2 separate regions of the Homo sapiens genome follow, and region 2 is linked to region 1. Evidence: promoter capture Hi-C in 16 types of primary human blood cells and fetal thymus (Javierre and others, 2016). All regions are on one chromosome and are shown on one strand. Each heading gives the region's core, a stretch centred on a gene start or on the middle of the fragment in contact. The rest is flanking DNA. Distances are from core to core; before and after follow the strand shown.

Region 1 (3,945 bases), core at 475-2,974:
TGTGTGAGTCATGACGATGAAAGCACTTTGAAAAAGAAACAGGGTCATCATGATGCCTGGAAGTGTCCCCACTGCTGAGGACAGGAGCCTGGGAACTGCCTGCCCAGGTAAGGTCTCTGCCTGAGACAGCAGGCCCCACTGCAAGGGGCTGAGGAACCTCTGGAGGTAGACACCTGGCCCACTCGTTCCCACCTGCTTGCCTCTGACGTCCCTGTGCTGGTCAAAGCAGCTTCCTCCCAGCCAGGGTGCCTGACTCCTGCGCCCAAGCCTGCCCCCAGCTCCTCCCACCCCTCCAGAAGTTGCTGGACTGAATTTCTGTCCTTGACTGGACAGCCACCTCCCCTGCCCCAGCCTCCAGCTCCCTGTCAATGGCCGGCCCAAGCCCGTCTTCAGGCACCTGGACCCTAGGAGTGGCCCTTCCTAGGGAGTCCGCTGCCGAAGAGCAGTTTTAAGTCCACCAAGAGGAAGCCGGCCCCAGAGCTGAGGAAGGCAGTCCTGTGAAAGGGCAGGCCCGGGGTGGGGGAGGGGGCACACCTGAAATCAGGCCAAGGTGCCACTCCAGGACGACCCCCGGGTCTTACCTTCCTCAGGCAGCCTGGCCTTTTAACGCCCAGCATCCCAGCTAGGGTTACTCTGGGCTGTTACCGCGAAAGCCAGCACTGGGTCCCTGGAGCCTGGGAGGGGCTGATCCCCGGGTCCTACCCAGAGAAGAGCGGGAGGGTTGTTCCGGCTTTCCGTGGTGGGCTCTGCACCATCCGGCGGCTCCGGCCCCACAGGGGCCCAGCTCATCGCAGCGGTCTGGGTGCGGAGGCCGGGCCAGGGCTGGGAGCAGGAAGCAGGGAGCGGCGCCCCCGCCTCCGGGTGCAGCTGGGTTTGGAAAGTTGGTGCGGGCGCGGGGACCTCAGGGTCTCAAGGCGCCTCCGCAGACCCGAGCCAGGCGGGTCGTGGGACGGTGAGCCCGGAGCAGCCCCTGAGTGCGCTCCGCAGCGGAGGGGAGCCAAGCGCCTCGGGGGCCACCGCGCGTCTCAAGTTTGCTGCCCTCCTCGAATGGGGGCAGGGAGGGCTGAGGTGATCGCGGCGCTCACCGGCCACCAGCCCCGGCAGCCCCTTCCTGCGCCCAACACGCCGCCGTTCCTCGCCGCCGCCACCCCTCCGCTCACCGCCGGTAGCTGCTGTCCCCGAGCGGAGGGGCGTCTCCCACCGCGCCCGCGCCCCTCCCGGCTGCTGCGGCGGAGTGTCCGCTCCCGCCCGCCCCGGAGCCCGCGGGGCCCGGCCAATACCTGGTCGGGGACGCGCCGGGAGCAGCTGCAGCGCCCAGCGCCGGCTCCATCCTCGGGTCTGGAGTCAGGGTCGCCGGGGACCCGCGGGTGGCGGCGGCGGCAGCAGCCGCGGCGGCATCCTCCGCCTCCCGCGCCCTCCTCCTCGGCCTCCCTCCTCCCTCCTCTTCCTCCGACTCCGCGCGCGCCTCACGGGCCCCTCTTCATGGCCCGGGGGCGCGAGCCCGGGGCGGCTCGAGCAGCTGAGTGCGTTCTCTCCGGCCGGACGCGGGACCCGGGGCCGGGGCTCAGGGACCCGAGAGATGCCGGGACAGGGGCCGGGACCCGGAGCGCCGCAGCCCCGGGCGCCGGAGGAGAGCAGCAGCCGCAGGCACCAGAGCCTCTCGGAGCGCCCGCCCGCGTCCCCGAGCCAAGAGCAGCGGCGGCAGCGGCGGCTACAGCTCCGAGCGAGCGGCAGGCGCTGCGGTCCCGGCTCCACCCCCGAGCCGCCCGCCCCTTCTCCTCCCCACCCCTTCGGCGCGCGCCTTCCCGCCCCCCGCGCCGCCCCAGCCGCGAGCGCCCTGGACACCCACTCCGCAGCCAGGCTCCGGAGCCCGCCCCCACCCACCCGCCGGGGGCAGCCACGCCCACCACCCGGACTTCGGGCGGCCGGCGGGCAAGGGCACCGGCTGTCTCTGGCACCTCTCCGCGTAGCCTCCCTTCCCCTTACCCCCGAGGGCGCTGCTGGCCGGGCCGCCAAAGCCTTTCGCCCCCCCAGCGCCCCTCGCCGCGGAAGTCCTGCTGGAGTCCCAGCCTGGCCCCTGGCCCAGCTGTCCTTTACCTCTTGCCCAGCCAGCGGCACAGAGGGACTTCAGAACCCAGAACTGAAGCCAACCATCTCTGTGTGCAATACCCTGACACACACCCCTAGCCTTTCCTCCTTCCCCGCCCCTCTGCTTCTCAAGTGTGGGGATGAATCATTTGTCCCCGCTGCAGTTGTCCCTCTTGGGCAGGGTCAGGGGGTGTCTTAATGGGACCTTAGAGTGGGTTTGCTGGCTGACCGTCTTCTAGGCCGCTCCTCCACACTGCCCACCTTCTTCCTACCAGACTGCCCCTGGCTTTCTAGGTGGCAATCTGGAGCCACCACTGCTTTTATGGATGAGGGATGGGGACAGAGCTGGCCAGCCGAGCACCTTGGGCCTGTATCCTCTGCACAAATATTGACTGAGCATCTTCCACAGGCCTGGCCTTCATGGGCACCAGGGACTGGTTGATGAACCTCTCAGAGTGGAGTGGAGGAGAAGCAGGGTGCATGAGCAGAGCAATATCATGTGATCAGTGGCCCCTGGGCTGGAGAGGACGGCCAGGAGTCCCAGCTCTGCCACCACATCTGACATGACTGAGGCTGCCCACCCCAGTGGCCTGTTTCCTCATCTGGAGACTAGGAAGGTGCTTTGTCTGGCTGAACCTCTGATGCTCCTCAGTTCTGACCAAATGGTTATTTCTGAAGCAGAGGAACAGTCAGCCTTCATCTCCACCTGGAATCTCTGATTCCCGACTATAGCTCTCCATCACTCCTGGACTGGGGCGCAGAGAGCAGTGGATGGCTTGAAAACTCCAGGCATTCTGGGAAAGCCTCGTCCCCGATGTATGGGCAAGCAGCTGCTGCCTCCATCCCACACAGTGAAGCACAGCAGAATGGTTAGCACAGCAGTTTCCTGGGTCAGAGGAACCTGCTGTGTGTTTGCTGGGTGACTTTGTGTGAGTGATCAGCCTCTCTGCGGCTCAGTTTCCTCATCCAGAAGACAGAGGTACTGATCCTCACCCTGTAGGGGTGTTGTGAACACTGGATGGTAATGTGTGTAGAGCATTCAGCAGTGTCTGGCAAGGGGGTGAGTACTTAATAATTGCACATTGTTGCGTTCAGGGTAGCCAGGAACAAACATTCACTCACTCGCCAAGAGGAGAACATGACAGCTGCACTTCCCTGGAGGACTGGGCTCTCGGGTCATCAAGAAGGTCTCCCTCTCTCCACCCAGAGCAGATGGTATGAAGGCCCTTGCCCCAAGGGTCCCACTAGACCAAATGGTCATTTATCTTGGTCACAATTGCAAACTCATAACTATAAACTCCTCTCCCCCATCTCCACCCCCATCAAGCTGGAGGGGCTAACAGCACCTTCCAGTGCGCATTCCTGTAGCCACAGCACCTGGGATGGCAGAGTCAGTCCTCAGTCCTGACTCCAAGGCTACCAAGTCTGTTTCTCCACCTGCCTTCCCCCTCCCCACCCCCACCCAGGGAGTGGCAGCGTACTGAGATGCCTAACAAGAGTGGTGCTGACCTTCCAAAAGCTAAGACTTCATGTTTCCAAATCGTGACTGTCCCTCTATAAAAAACCAAGCTCTAATAGCCTTGGGCTGAGCCATCAGAACCTTCCTTTTCACCCAGAGTTAATCCCTCCCCAAGTTTTCAGGCTGACGAGAATAGTCAGGGTTTAGAGAAAGCTTTCTCTATCTTGCACTACCAGATCCAGCGCCTCATTTTTCAAATTCTGGTGTATTTCGGGTAGAGAGGAGGGAAAAGTACATCTGGCTGACATGAAAAGATTGGTGTGGTTGTAATGTAAAGACAGAGTGGAATTTGGGAAATTTTTGAAGAACATTTAAACTCTAAAAATAGACAAAAGACC
Region 2 (3,945 bases), core at 1,446-3,945, 320 kb before region 1:
CTAAGTCAAATAGTGCATGAGGCTCCACAGCAGCTCTTAATCAGGAAAACGGAGAGATGATTGTCGTTAACATAAAACACGGAACCCTGGGACCAGCTTTCTGTCTGCCCCAAAAACCAGCTGCTTCCAAGCCCCTCTAATTCCTGGTTCTCTGGGAAGGTGCTAGTCCAGTGACTTTTATCCAGGGGTCCACGGACCCGTAACATGTTTGTGGAGGGAATTCAGGGGTCTGTGAACTCAAATGAGGAAAAATATATCTATGTTTGCTAACTTCCAACCGAAATGTAGCACTTTGGTTTGGAAAGCAGGCAACAAACCATAGTAATGTTATCAGTCCTCATTGTCACCAATAGAAATCACCGACATTTTCATGTATTACAGTTGCTACAGATATGTTGAAATCAAGCTCAGGCTCATCTGTGCAGCAAAATTGGCAATTAGATCCACTATTAGACCTTGTAACATAAAAGCATAAATAAAGAAGCATATATCGGCCAGGTATGGTGGCTCACGCCTGTAGTCCCAGCATTTTGGGATGCTGAAGCAGGCAGATCACTTGAGGTCAGGAGTTCGAGACCAGTCTAGTCAACATGGTGAAACCCTGTCTCAACTAAAAATACAAAAATTAGCCAGGCATGGTGGCAGGAACCTGTAATCACAGCTACTCTGGAGGCTGAAGCAGGAGAATCACTTGAACCCAGGAGGCAGAGGTTGCAGTGAGCTGAGATCGCAACACTGCACTCCAGCTTGGGTGACAGAGGGAGACTCCATCTCAAAAAAAAAAAAAAAGGAGCATATGTATGATTCAATCACCATTTTAAAATATATTTTGTATTTCAATAAGGCTGTAATCATATGTGTCTTCAGCATTTAAAAAGTTTTATTCCAAGGTGCCCCTAGGCTTCCCTGCCAGAGGTATCCCTGACATGAAAGAGGTTAAGAAGCCCTATCTAGACAAAAAAAGGCAGGCCTTATTTAGACCAGGGAGTAGTATTAATAGAAGGAGCAAGGCAGGGCAAAGGTACTATCTTTGATCCCGGCAAAGTACAGCTGGATATGGCAAAGCAATGCCTGACCCAACCTGAATGCCAGGTAGCCAGACAAACCAGTGTGGTCTAGAACAGTCTAGAAGAGCAAATTGCCTGGAAGGGTGCTGCTCATGACAATCCCAGGAAGCACAAACAAGGGAGCCCTTGAGGAAAATCTCCCCCAAAGTACCTGTGGTCACTGTTTAAAGCTCTGGCTTTGACCCAGGTCAGACCTGGCTCAATCCTGGCTTCATAATCACCTTTGGCAAGAAATGGTTCACCTAATCAGGGTGAACCTCAGTTTCTCTCTCCATCTGTAAAATGGTAATAATACCTCCCTTAAGTTTTTGTTAAAGTTATGTAATTTATTCATAAATATGTTAAACAAAGAAAGCAAATTACAGAATGATAGATACTTCATTTATGTACAATATTAAGTAATACAAAACTATGTTATATAATGTTTATAAAGACTTCTGCACTAATATAGAAAATTATGCGTGGGGATCAAAAACACCAAATTCAATTTCCTAGTGCTTATATATAGGAAATGGGGGAAAATAGGTTTGGGATAAAAAAATGATCTGTGTTTGTAAGTGGAGAATCTGAAATAAATACATATGGCAAAGATTAAGATTTGATAATGCTTTCTTTTAACCTTTATTTAAGTGACCTACAATAAGCTGAACACTTAAAAACATACAATTTAATAAGTTTTGGCATATGTATACTCTCATGAAACCATTACCATAATCCAGATAATGAACATATCCATCATTCCCAAATGTTACCTCATTACAACATGCCATGTTGTAATGGCTCATCTGGCAGCCTGACTTGAGAGTGTGTGCCTTCATCCTCCTGAAGAGGGTCAACTGTATTCCTTTATTATCTTGCTTATTCTGGAGAACCTGTAGTAATATCCTCTGTTTCATTCCTAATATTGGTGATATTAGAATGTTACCTAATATTCTTCTTTTTTGTCTGTCTTGCTAGAGTTTTATCCTTTAGAAAATATTTTCAAAAAACCAGCTCTTTTTTTTTAGTTGCTTTAATAGTTTTATTGCTTTCTATTTCTTGACTTTGCTCTTTATTATTTCTTTCTTTCAGCTTGTTATGGGTTTAATTTGCTTTTCTTTTTCTAGGTACTGTAGTTGGGAGCTAAGATTGTTGATGAGAGTTTTCCTTTCTTCTAATGTATGCTATGCATTTAGTGCTATAAATTTCCCTCAGCACTGCTTAGCTCTCTTCTACAAATTTTGATATGCTTATTTTCATTTTCATCCAGTACAGCATATTCTTTTGTTTCCCTTGAGACTTCCACTTTGACCCATGGAATATTTAGAAACGTGTTGCTTAGTTTCCACCTGTTTGGGTGAGTTTACTGTCATCTTTCTGTTGCCGTTCTCTAATTTGATTCCACAGTGGTCAGAGAACACACTTGGTATGATTTTAACTCTTTCAAATGCGTTAAAGTCTGTTTCATAGCCCAGAATGTGGTCGATTTTTGGAGTATGTTCCCTGGGCACTTAAAAAGAACATACCTTCTGTTGTCAGGTGGAGCATTCTATGAATGCTGATAAGATCATTTTGATTGATAGTGTTGCTGAATTTTTCTATATCCTTGCTGATTTTCTGTCTAGCTGTCCCATTAATTATTGAGAGAGGGGTGTGGATTTGTCCAGTTCTCCTTTTAACGTATCTATTTTTTGCTTCACATATTTTGCAGCTGTTATTTGGTGTGTACACATTTAGGGTTGATATTTCTTCTTGATGGATTGACCCTTTTATCATTTTGTCACATTGTTCTCTATCTCTGGTAATTTTCTTTGCCCTGAAATTTACCTTATCTGATGCTAATATAGCTACTCCCACTTTGATTGTTTGCATGATATATTTTTTCCATCCTTTCACTTTCAATCTGCCTATATTGTTAAATTTGAAGTGAGAATTTCTTACAGGTGGCATGTAGCTAGGTCATCATTTTCCTCTACTCTGCCAATCTGTGTGTTTTAATTGGTGTATTTAGACCATTGACATTTAATGTAATTATTGATATGTTAAGGTTTAAGTCTACCATTTTGTATTTTCTATTCTCATTTCTGTTTTCTCTTTCTTGCCTTCCTGTGAGTTATTTTAACTTTTTTGTTGAATCTCATTTTTATTTATCTAGTGTTTTTGAGTGTCTTTCTGTATATTCTTTTTAGTGGTTGCTCTAGGTATTTCATTTAATATATACATAATATCGCATTCTCTGGGGTCATCATTTTACCAATTTGAATGCAGTGGAGAAATTTTTACCATCCTCTATATCCCTTTACCTTCTCCCACTTATAATTGTCTTAAATATTTCCTCTACAAACATTTAGATAGATATCAGCAGATACAGGGGAAGTACTTTTTTGTTTGTTTTGTTGGTGGTCTTTGGCTGGAGTCAAGCAGTTATTGTCCAAAAGCCTTCTGTCTTGCTAAGTTGCCCCATTCTTAGTCCTTTATCTTAAGAAAGGTGGCTTTTCTTGGGACTTTTTTTTTTTTTTTGTCTGATGCCGTTAGCATTACTGGGTCACTGGCTTCCTCAGCTCTAGGTTTGGAATATATGAGGCAAAGGAAAACCCAGAAAATTTGCCAGCATGGTGCTCCTTAGATCACAAGGTTCCTAGTCATTCCACCTTTCTAAGTCTTCTTATGTTTGTTTTTTGTATAATGCCCAGGGGTTTTAGTTGCACTTTGTGGGAGGAAGAAGAGAAAGTACATTTACTCCATTTTCCTGGAAGCAGAAGCCCTGATGCATTTCTAAAGCTGGCCTCTTGTTCCACTTTCACAAAAGACATTTCCCTATGAAAGAGCGTTAACATCCCACTGCTCTTCAAAATGGAAAACAAGTTTGCAGTAAGAGACAAGATGATCAGCAAGGTTT

Evidence for each region. Contacts are between HindIII fragments. The CHiCAGO score rates a contact against its expected background, and 5 or more counts as called.
Region 2: a fragment that was not itself captured here is called in contact with the fragment with the promoter of CHST1 in region 1 in 4 of 17 cell types (megakaryocytes, endothelial precursors, M2 macrophages and 1 more); the score reaches 5.6 in megakaryocytes.

What each region holds. Positions count from the first base shown.
Region 1 is chr11:45,663,898-45,667,842 of GRCh38, forward strand. It overlaps CHST1 (carbohydrate sulfotransferase 1), which reads right to left and starts at 1,725. Exons shown (of 4, transcript NM_003654.6): 1 at 1,281-1,725. The HindIII fragment of the contact is 4,208 bases long and covers 1-3,758 here.
Region 2 is chr11:45,347,874-45,351,818 of GRCh38, forward strand. No RefSeq gene overlaps it. Among named protein-coding and RNA genes, the nearest start is that of LINC02696, 5.5 kb to the right of the region's middle. The HindIII fragment of the contact is 5,570 bases long and covers 1-3,945 here.